Linked DNA regions of Homo sapiens: regions 2 and 3 are each linked to region 1. The links are contacts of gene promoters, found by promoter capture Hi-C in human tissues and cell types (Jung and others, 2019). All regions are on one chromosome and are shown on one strand. The core of a region is centred on a gene start or on the middle of the fragment in contact, and the rest is flanking DNA. Distances in the headings are between cores, read along the strand shown. Region 1 holds the start of RPL37A (ribosomal protein L37a). Region 2 overlaps DIRC3 (disrupted in renal carcinoma 3). Region 3 overlaps DIRC3 (disrupted in renal carcinoma 3).

Region 1 (2,987 bases), core at 131-2,630:
TGATTTGATTCATATATATTTTTTGAGACAGAGTCTCACTCTGTTGTCCAGGCTGGACTGCAGTGGCGTGATGACAGCTTACTGCAGCCTCAACCTCCCAGGCTCAAATGATCTTCCCACCTCAGCCCAGGTATGCAAGTTGACTTTAATACAATTGTGAGGAAAAGTGAACAGGTGCAAAATTATTTGAGACAGTTAATATTAAGCTTTGGGAACGGAAGCTACTTGTTACCGGACTTCTGATTGGAATCAGGGCCACACAATGCCTTTCAGCTCCCATGGTCTTTCTTGGCCCTCTAATCATGGATTCTCTCTTACACTCTTATTCCAGTAGTTTTCTGAGCTTCTTATTCTCTGGATTAGCCATCCCCTGAAAAAAGGCAACCAAACTTCCTAGTGTGTGTGTTCTACGTGAAGAAAGAAGATCATGTGTCTAGTTCCAGAACACACCCTCCCCACCCCCGGCCTCAACCAGAAATCCAATTCTTCCCTGCTGACCCCTTTGAGAGACCTGGAGGGACAGAGAATTGACGGTGGGTAAAGGGTAAGATGTTGGAGTTTAAGGGTTCAGGCCTGGACCAGGAAGCTGTCTTAACAGCCTAGTGTGGGGCCATGGAAGTGAGTTCTGAAATGAAGTGGAAGGCAGGCCATCCGCACTGAGATGCAGCAGCTGGAACACAAAACTCCAAGGTGACTGTTAACTTTTCCCCAGCCTTCCAATCTCAGACTTTCCTCAGGAAACACCAGGCTCTTCTGAATTAGTCGCGAGCAGAACCATCGTCCTTTCCTTCAGAACTCTGACCAGTTTGAAACTGTCTAACTTCTTAATGTGGCTATATGATCGTTTGCAGCTGGCCTGCAACTTGTTCTGGGAATGGAACCTTGGATTTTAGTCACCACTGTCGCTAGCATCCTGCACAGTCAGCCACTTTTAGAGAGCATAATGCAGAGGGGGAAATAAATGAGATTTGGAATAGAGACGGGGTTTCACCCTGCTGGCCAGGCTGGTCTCGAACTCCTGACCCACCCCGCCTCCCAAAGTGTTAGAATCACAAGCGTGAGCCACCGCGCCCGGCCCCACAAATGTAAGATTTATGCACTTCTCCAAGCCAAGTGCTGTGCATCGAATGGAGGAACTCGTACCTTTGCAGGATTTTGTGATATATGTGAAATAATCCGGACATGCTTCTGCTATGGTTGTTTGTCGCCATAGTTTGCGAATCTGGGTAAACCTGGATGAGAGAGACGCCTTACAATTGCAAACATTTCTCAGGAGGCCGCCTGAAAACGCCCAAACCATAGAGCTCAGTTCCTAGCTAGGCCTCTACCAGCCACTTCCGCTCGTCCGCCTAATACCGCGCCTGCGCACCGCGTCTCTTCCTTTCTGGGCTCGGACCTAGGTCGCGGCGACATGGTGAGTGTGGGTCTCTGTGCGGCCTAGAACTCTATCTGCCTGCATCTGTCCTTGTTTTCTTCTCCCGCACCCATCTCCTCTCCTGCCTTACCCCGTGTTCTCTCCTGTCTCCATGCCTTTGCAGGAGACACCATTGTCGGAAGCTCCCCAAGGCGGAGGGGCGGGGGCGCCTTGGCTGGGCCTGGCGCGCTCCAGCCGGGTTAACGCCGGGCCTTCGGAGCGCGCGGCCAGCCCTGGGCACTGGTTTCGTTGGGTTGAATTTAGGGAAAACTAGGTCATATGTAATTCACATGTCGGTCACACGTCAGTGAGGTGGAGGAACGGTGTGTGGAGGCTCCAGGGCCTGCCTGGGTTCCAGGTCTATCACTGGTTTCTCCCTTCACTCTAAACAGGCCAAACGTACCAAGAAAGTCGGGATCGTCGGTAAATACGGGACCCGCTATGGGGCCTCCCTCCGGAAAATGGTGAAGAAAATTGAAATCAGCCAGCACGCCAAGTACACTTGCTCTTTCTGTGGCAAAGTAAGTAAGGCAAAGTCTCTGGTGAGAGGAGAGGGAGGGCAGGTTTCTTACCCAAGTGAGGCCTGACTTCAAGGTATTTTATAAGCCGTGTGCTGGTGGGCAGTTGGAATTACTCATACCGTTGATTATGAGTTTTAAGATAAAAGTGTTGATGGTAACTTCAGATTTTGTGAGACGTTTTTCATTTAAAGAAAACCGCTTAAACGTTAATGGGTAAAATAATCATTTGACAGAGTGCCCCCAGCCTAAGCCAAACCTGCTTTGTGGGAAATGATTCCATCAGTTTTGTCTACTGATGTTTCTGCACCAACTCCCAAGATGTCTGTGCATCTAATACCATTCTACTTGTTCTGCGAGGGATTTTTGTTTGATAAAGGTTTGAACGTTTATGTGCAAAATACTGCATTACAGCAATCCCTGTTTTGTTTTTGAGGGAGAAAGGGAGGCTTTCACATCCCTGACAATAAGGTGAATCCAAATTTAGACTTCTGGATGCTTGTAAGAGAAAATACTTACTTGGTTCATAGTGAAAATTGGTTCTCTTTTATAGACCAAGATGAAGAGACGAGCTGTGGGGATCTGGCACTGTGGTTCCTGCATGAAGACAGTGGCTGGCGGTGCCTGGACGTACAAGTGAGTCTAGTTCCTTGTGGTATTTGGAAGTGTGTGGACCACATAGGCCCAAATTCCAGGTTGCTGCTGGATGGGCTAGTTTTAACACTTTCTCAGGACTGAGAGAATAAGGATGCCTTTGTATTTTCAGGATTCTTCCGTGGTGGTTTATTTTCAGTTATTGAAAGAGTAAACACAAAACTACCAAAATAGAAGTCGGAAATCTAATTCACAGACTACTTTAGAATTTGATGGTCACTGGGCACATTGTTGTGAACATTGTCATGATACTGTGCAGGTCCATTAGTGGGGCTGAATCTACTGAACGTTGATTTGCACTGCAAGTTTTGATAAAAATAGGTGAAGGGGTCAGTTAGTTCAAAACTGTATTTGGAACTTGAGGCCATCAGGACCACCACAGTTTCGTCTTTCTGAACAGT
Region 2 (3,099 bases), core at 554-3,053, 1.1 Mb after region 1:
ATTTGGTCTTATGAGATGCCACCCCCATCCCCCACTCCTCAAAAAAGGATTCTATGCTGGTCAAATAGATTTAGGAAATCCTCTATACTATACTGTCTACCCCCTGGGAGAATTACCATGCACACCTATATCTTAAAAGTTCTGATAACTCCTATAGTAAAGAAACATGCTTAACTTTGTTTAACCCAGTGTTTTCCAAGTGTGGTTAACCAGAAAACACTGCATTCATGTAGCACATATTAAAAACCCAAGACATAGGGGTCTGCAGAAAGCTCTTGGGAAATACTGCCTTAGGAAATTATTTCTTTCATTTTCTTCCTTCATTGTCAATATAATTCTTAGGAGGAATAATAATAGCTGCTATTCATTTAACTCTAGGGTTCGTCCAAGTGCTTTTACCAATATCATCTCATCTTTTAATGTTTGAAGCTTCAGCCCGACCTATCTTTCAAATTCCTTCTTTTTCTTTCCTTGAAGCAGAATCCCAAGGGATTACAATTATGTGGGTATATCTCAGAAAGTTAACAGCCATGTCTATCTCTTTTTCAGATCAGAAGGGTACAATTTTCTACTACTTAAAAAAGAGAGAGAGAGATCCTTTGCTCCTAACAGATTTTATCAGTTTCTAGGAATTACTTAAAATGCACTTATAATAGTAAATGTCAAAGATTAACACTTCTCAACTCCCTTAAGAGGTCCCCCCCCCAGTCATTTTTTCTGATACAAACTACTTTCTGTTAAGTATTACCTTACAAGGAATACAATTAATTGAAAGTAAAACATTTTAAAAGAAAATGAGGATTTTTTAATAAAGCATTTTAATTGCCAAATGATTTTCTCTCTAAAAATATTTGCATTCAAAAACACAGCAAAATCAGAGGGCAATGCTTAACTCAAAGGAATGACTGTAATAGATTTCAGGCTGTAAGAGGAATATTTGGGAAGGTGAGGGATGTTGTTTTTATCCCTCAAATCACCTCACACAGGCAATTGCCGCCTTTGTCTATCTATCTGGTTTATTGTGTTCATTGCTACCTCTTCAATCTCCTTCTGAATTCCTGGAATGGATAGACATTAAAATTCAAAGTGGTGTGAATCCTGGCTTCATCACTGACTCATTGAATAGTGTTTCTGAAACTACCTTTCTCAATTTCTTCATTGTTAAATATAAAATAGCACTACCTAATAACACTGTGTTGTTGCAAGGATAAAATTGGAACAGATGCAAAGCATCTAGTACCCTGCCCAACACACAGCAGGTAGTCCGTAAGTGTGGGTTATAGACCTGCATTTTTCTTGGCAACTTGTAGGCAAGAGAGGTAACCAGTAGCCCAATGGTATGTCTCTGTGATTTGTACTTAGCATGAATACGTGGGTGAAGGCTTGTCTTCTCTCCCCATGGAAACCCAAGAGGAGACTTCAGAAGACTGTTAGCTCCCCACCCACCCCCACCTTTCTGGCACTGAATCCCATTCATTCCACAATGGCAGCTGTCCTGGGCCCCATCTAAGGTGCCTGACCCTTGGAAAGGGAGGCCCAGAGAGCAGTCATTACTTCTTTGCAGCTGTGGTCACAAAACCACGTAAGAAAGTGGGACACAGAGAGAGATTTAGTAGACTGGGCTGGGGGCAAGTGGCCAGGAAGCAAACATGTACTCAGCCAAAATGCCAAGTTCAGTAGCTTGAATAAAAACCATCCTAACCTCCAAGGCCCCAAGGTCACCATCTGGAAATGGAAAATCACCGTCAATAAATTACTATGGACCACAGTACTGTGGGATTTCAAAAGAAACTGGACTGCATGAGTTCAAGCTTGGGTTCTCCCTTTAGCTGCCCCTGTGTTCTACTCTTTGAAAGGATAAAAGGCTCTTGGTCCCAAATGGCGACTGTAAATGCAGTGGAAGCTGGGGTGAGTTGCTATGATGAGGGTGGGGTTGCCCTTAATGCCCAGTTCGATAGCTTGACACTAAGTAGAGGGCCAAAGCCCACCATTGCTATTTTCTTCCCCCTTGGCTTCCCAGTGGGCAAAGTTGGCAGATCAGGGAGCACCTGTATCCACTGTGGATCCCTGCTATCCCTCCAACCTCCACCCTGCATTCCCCAAGCCCAGAAAAGAGACGCCCTCCTCCCCTCTCTGCAGTCCCCTAGGAATCTTTCACAGGTGGTCTGAAGTATCACCTGCAACCAGAGTGCTGATGAACTTCTGTCTGCCCTGCTGGGCTTTGTACGGTCCCTGAGTCTGGTCACCCCAGGCCCAAGCAGAAAGCTAAAAAACCTGGTGTTGCAGACATGAAGACAATGGGCCTGCTGGGCTGAAAGCATTCCAGTCTCCCACGTTCAGTAGGAAGGGGTGTTTGGCAGGGAGGAAAGGTCATTAATGCAGACAGTTTATGTTTTCCCAAGCCAGCATTCCTCACAAACAGCTGTGTTTATACAGAACTAGAGGAGAGGGAGAGAGAGACAAGAGAAAGGACAGTGTCCTAGGGATGACATCATTCTGTCCTGTCTGCTTCGACTCCCACCACTGGTGGTGGGGGCTGGGGGAAACGGCAGCAGGCTGGTGAACGTGCTTGGTGTAAGTACATGCAGAGTGTTTATATGTGAGTGTGTTTATTAGATATATATTTTTCCTACTCTCCACTCTGCTCCTTCCCCACTGGCTCCCAGAGCATCCTAATACATTTTGCAGAACACTATTTTTCCTGTAACAGCAACCTCAGAGGAAGGCGAGATTCAGGGGCTCATGTTCACTCCTCCTAATCTCTTTAACAAACCCCCCTCACAGAAGAAAAGCCTGACAGGAGGCAGAGTCATTAAAGTGAATTAAAATGCATCCAAGGAGAGATTAGCCCCAAAAACCATTCCCATATCAGACAAAGGCCCCTTTCATGCAGACTCCAGCCGCCTGGAGTCCTGTAAGCAGAGATTAGGGAACAAATTCTCAGAACCTAGAAGCACTGGCTCTTCAGGAAACGGGCCAACACTTAACCTCCCCTGGATAGAATCTCAAGAACTCAGCTTCTGCTTAAACTACACTTCGGCTTCTTAAGGCCCTCACTGTAAGGGAAAGGGGCTCCACTGAGGCACATGGATTCTCCCC
Region 3 (2,972 bases), core at 436-2,935, 1.2 Mb after region 1:
ATCCATTCAAAAACGAGCATCTGATCATGCCTCTCTCTACTTAAAACTCTTCAGCATCTCTGCATTTTCTACAGAATAAAATCCAAACCTAGTCTGGTTTCAGCATGCTGTGCTCTGGCCCCTGCTGTCTCTCTGTCTTCATCTATTGCTACTTGTCATCTTGTAGTCGACTAAACAGTTTTCAGAAATGCCCTCGTCTCTCCCACCTCCAGGCCTTTGCACATACTATCCCCTCTGCCTAGAACTAGTTCCCTTTTTCTTTAGCTAATTTCTACTTGATTCAGATCACAGTTCTTAGATCTTCCAGGAGAAAACCTCCTCTGGCTTCTGCAGACCTGTTTAGAGTTCCCCTAACAGCACTCTGTTCTTCCTCTCTCAAAGCACTTATTGTAAGTGCTAGTGAAAAATTTGCTATTTTCCCAGCTAGATGTTAAGCTTTAAGAGGCTAGGTCTAACTCACATGCCCAGAAATTCCCAAAGTACTGAAGTACACGTGATAGGGTCTCAAATATTTTAAGTTTGCTAGGTCTGTCCTATATCCTGAAAATACACCAAGTACAAGGCAGGCCAGCCCTCACAGGGCTCACACTCTAAAGATAATAAACCAGTGAATCAATGCAGTTAGAGTTATGAAGAGGACCACAGAGGAAAGAAACAGAGGGCTGTCATAGAGCATTAATATTGTTTGGATGTCTTTCCCTTCCAAATCTCATGTTGAAATGTGATTCCTAATGTTGGAAGTGGGGCCTGGTGAGAGGTGATTGGATCTTGGGGGCGGATCCCTTATTAATGGCTTAGCACCATCCCCTTGGTGATAAGTGAGTTCTCACTCTGGTAATTCATATGAGAGCTGGTTGTTTAAAAGGGTGTGGCACCTCCCCCATCTCTTGCTTCCTCACTCACCATGTGACATGATTGCTCCTGCTTCGCCTTCCACCTTGAGTAAAAGCTTCCCGAAGCCTCACCAGAAGCCAAGCAGATTCTGGTGCCAAGCTTCCTGTACAGCCTGCAGGACCAATAAAACCAATACAACCTTCTTTCTTTATAAATTATCCAGTCTCAGTATTGCTTTATAGCAATGCATTGGACTAACACAAGCATATTGGGGGAGGTAGAGAGAGAACGCCTACTTTAGACATACAGTGGTCAGGGAAGGCTTCTCTGAGAAGCTGACATTGAACAGGAAGCTGAAGAATGAAAACCAGCCAGTCACGCAAAGGCCAGGGAAGTGAAGGCTCTAGGCAGGAAAAAGCCTACCATATTCTAGGGATGTCAGAAGGTTAATGTGGTTGAGCAAAGAGGAGAAATAACATAGTCTTCATTCTATCAAGCCCACATTGCCAGAAGCTTATACCACAGTGTCTTTATCGGCTGTGGTCTGAAGTCACTCTAGTGCAGTGGTTTGTTCCATCCAGTGGGAAGGGCACATGGTAACAGAGAAGCCCCCACACGGCATTGCCTTTTCTACAAAACATTTCAAAGCCCTAAGGCCCTGCCTTCCAAATCCAAATTCCAACATAGTGAGGTGAGCCTATTCTTATTAAAAATGTTCCATGTGCTAAAACTCATTAACAACCGGAAGAAGAATGAGAATGAGATTATTATCAGTCCCTTCTTGCCTGGATGGAAAAAGGGTACGATGAGAAAACAGGACTTCTACTGTCTTTCCAACCATCAAACCAAGATGTATCTCTTTGAGAACATGGGCTCTGCAGGTGTCCCTGGGATGAGTCATGCCCTTTCCAAAGATTAAGCACTGAGGCCACCCTTGACGTCATGGCAACCGAGCCACAACCACTTTATTCCTAGGCCAAGTTTGCACCTCTGCACACTAGACCTGCAATGTGCCTTGCAGTCTGCTCCTGGTTGGACTCCACCTTTTCCCTGCCCCAGAACAACACCCAGGATACATTGATTGGGAGTAACTATGGATAACAGCAGGAACGCTTGAGCCAAGGACTGTTTACATGTCCTTTGAACAACCAGTTCTCCTGCTCCACCATCAGAGCCAAAACTCCCTCCCTCCATTCCCCTCTTTCTCCAGCCCTCAGAGGCGGTCCACATTCCTAGTTTAGGCAATGCATTCTTGCTGCCCTGACACATACCACGAGAGTGGGCCAGGCAGGCTCTTGAGAGAGCCAAGCTACCCACCCAACACTTGGCTTTGGCTGAGGGCATCAAGCCAGGCCATAGCATCATAGCAGCTAAGGTCCCTTGATAAGCCACATCAGCTCAACTCTTTAAAATTGATCATGGCATTGCTGATGGAGCTGATAAGAGTTACATCAGACTATCCCTCCAAAGCCCAGATTGAATGACTACTAATTTTGATAGGCCTGGCAGTTAACACTCCCCTCACTGTGGAGGCCACTGCTAGATCCAAATCTGGAATGGGTTTCAGGGAGGGGAGGGTTGTTGATTACAGGATGAGCCATAACATAATCAGAACTTCTGGGCATGAAAAGATCTCCAAGGCAGCGTTTGGGTTCAGTTTCATCACTACTAAGTCACCACCGATCCTAGATGATTTTTGAACCAATATCTAATGTCAATGCCTTCTATGAATAGGATTCATTTATTTATTCATCTATTTCTTTAAAAGGCATATTTAGCACCTTTGTATGTCATATACTGTGCTAGATATGCAGGATAATGAGATGAATATGACATGTTTCTTGCCTTCAAAGAGCTCTGTAAAGGGTGATGCATAGGATTATTTCTTGAGAAGACAGGGCTGAAAGACCACTATATGAACCTTCTAAAGTCACTAACTACCAAAAATGTCATGACTAGCTAAGATAAGCATCCATCTGCAGGGACTGTGATGAGGATGCTGGTGGGCATATTGCTTTTATATTCCGGTTACTTATTATAATCTTAATAACTAAATTTGTGTGCTCATGATATACCAGAAATACTTCTAAATGCTCCACATGCATTATCTAATACTAACAAACCTGCATGGTATATGT

Evidence for each region. Contacts are between HindIII fragments. The study calls those that stand out against the background at their distance.
Region 2: a contact is called between a fragment that was not itself captured here and the fragment with the promoter of RPL37A in region 1, in 1 of the 25 tissues and cell types used here (neural progenitor cells).
Region 3: a fragment that was not itself captured here is called in contact with the fragment with the promoter of RPL37A in region 1 in 2 of the 25 tissues and cell types used here (aorta and psoas muscle).

The regions. Positions count from the first base shown.
Region 1 is chr2:216,497,464-216,500,450 of GRCh38, forward strand. RPL37A (ribosomal protein L37a) reads left to right here and starts at 1,381. Exons shown (of 4, transcript NM_000998.5): 1 at 1,381-1,414; 2 at 1,807-1,935; 3 at 2,486-2,568. The coding sequence starts at 1,412. It overlaps RPL37A-DT (RPL37A divergent transcript), which reads right to left and starts at 1,289. Exons shown (of 4, transcript NR_183317.1): 1 at 1,144-1,289. RefSeq lists enhancers at 798-887, 1,068-1,457. The HindIII fragment of the contact is 7,301 bases long and covers 1-2,987 here.
Region 2 is chr2:217,619,992-217,623,090 of GRCh38, forward strand. All of the region lies in intron 2 of DIRC3 (disrupted in renal carcinoma 3), which reads right to left. Among named protein-coding and RNA genes, the nearest start is that of DIRC3, 170 kb to the right of the region's middle. The HindIII fragment of the contact is 3,436 bases long and covers 86-3,099 here.
Region 3 is chr2:217,690,356-217,693,327 of GRCh38, forward strand. All of the region lies in intron 2 of DIRC3 (disrupted in renal carcinoma 3), which reads right to left. Among named protein-coding and RNA genes, the nearest start is that of DIRC3, 99 kb to the right of the region's middle. The HindIII fragment of the contact is 5,266 bases long and covers 1-2,972 here.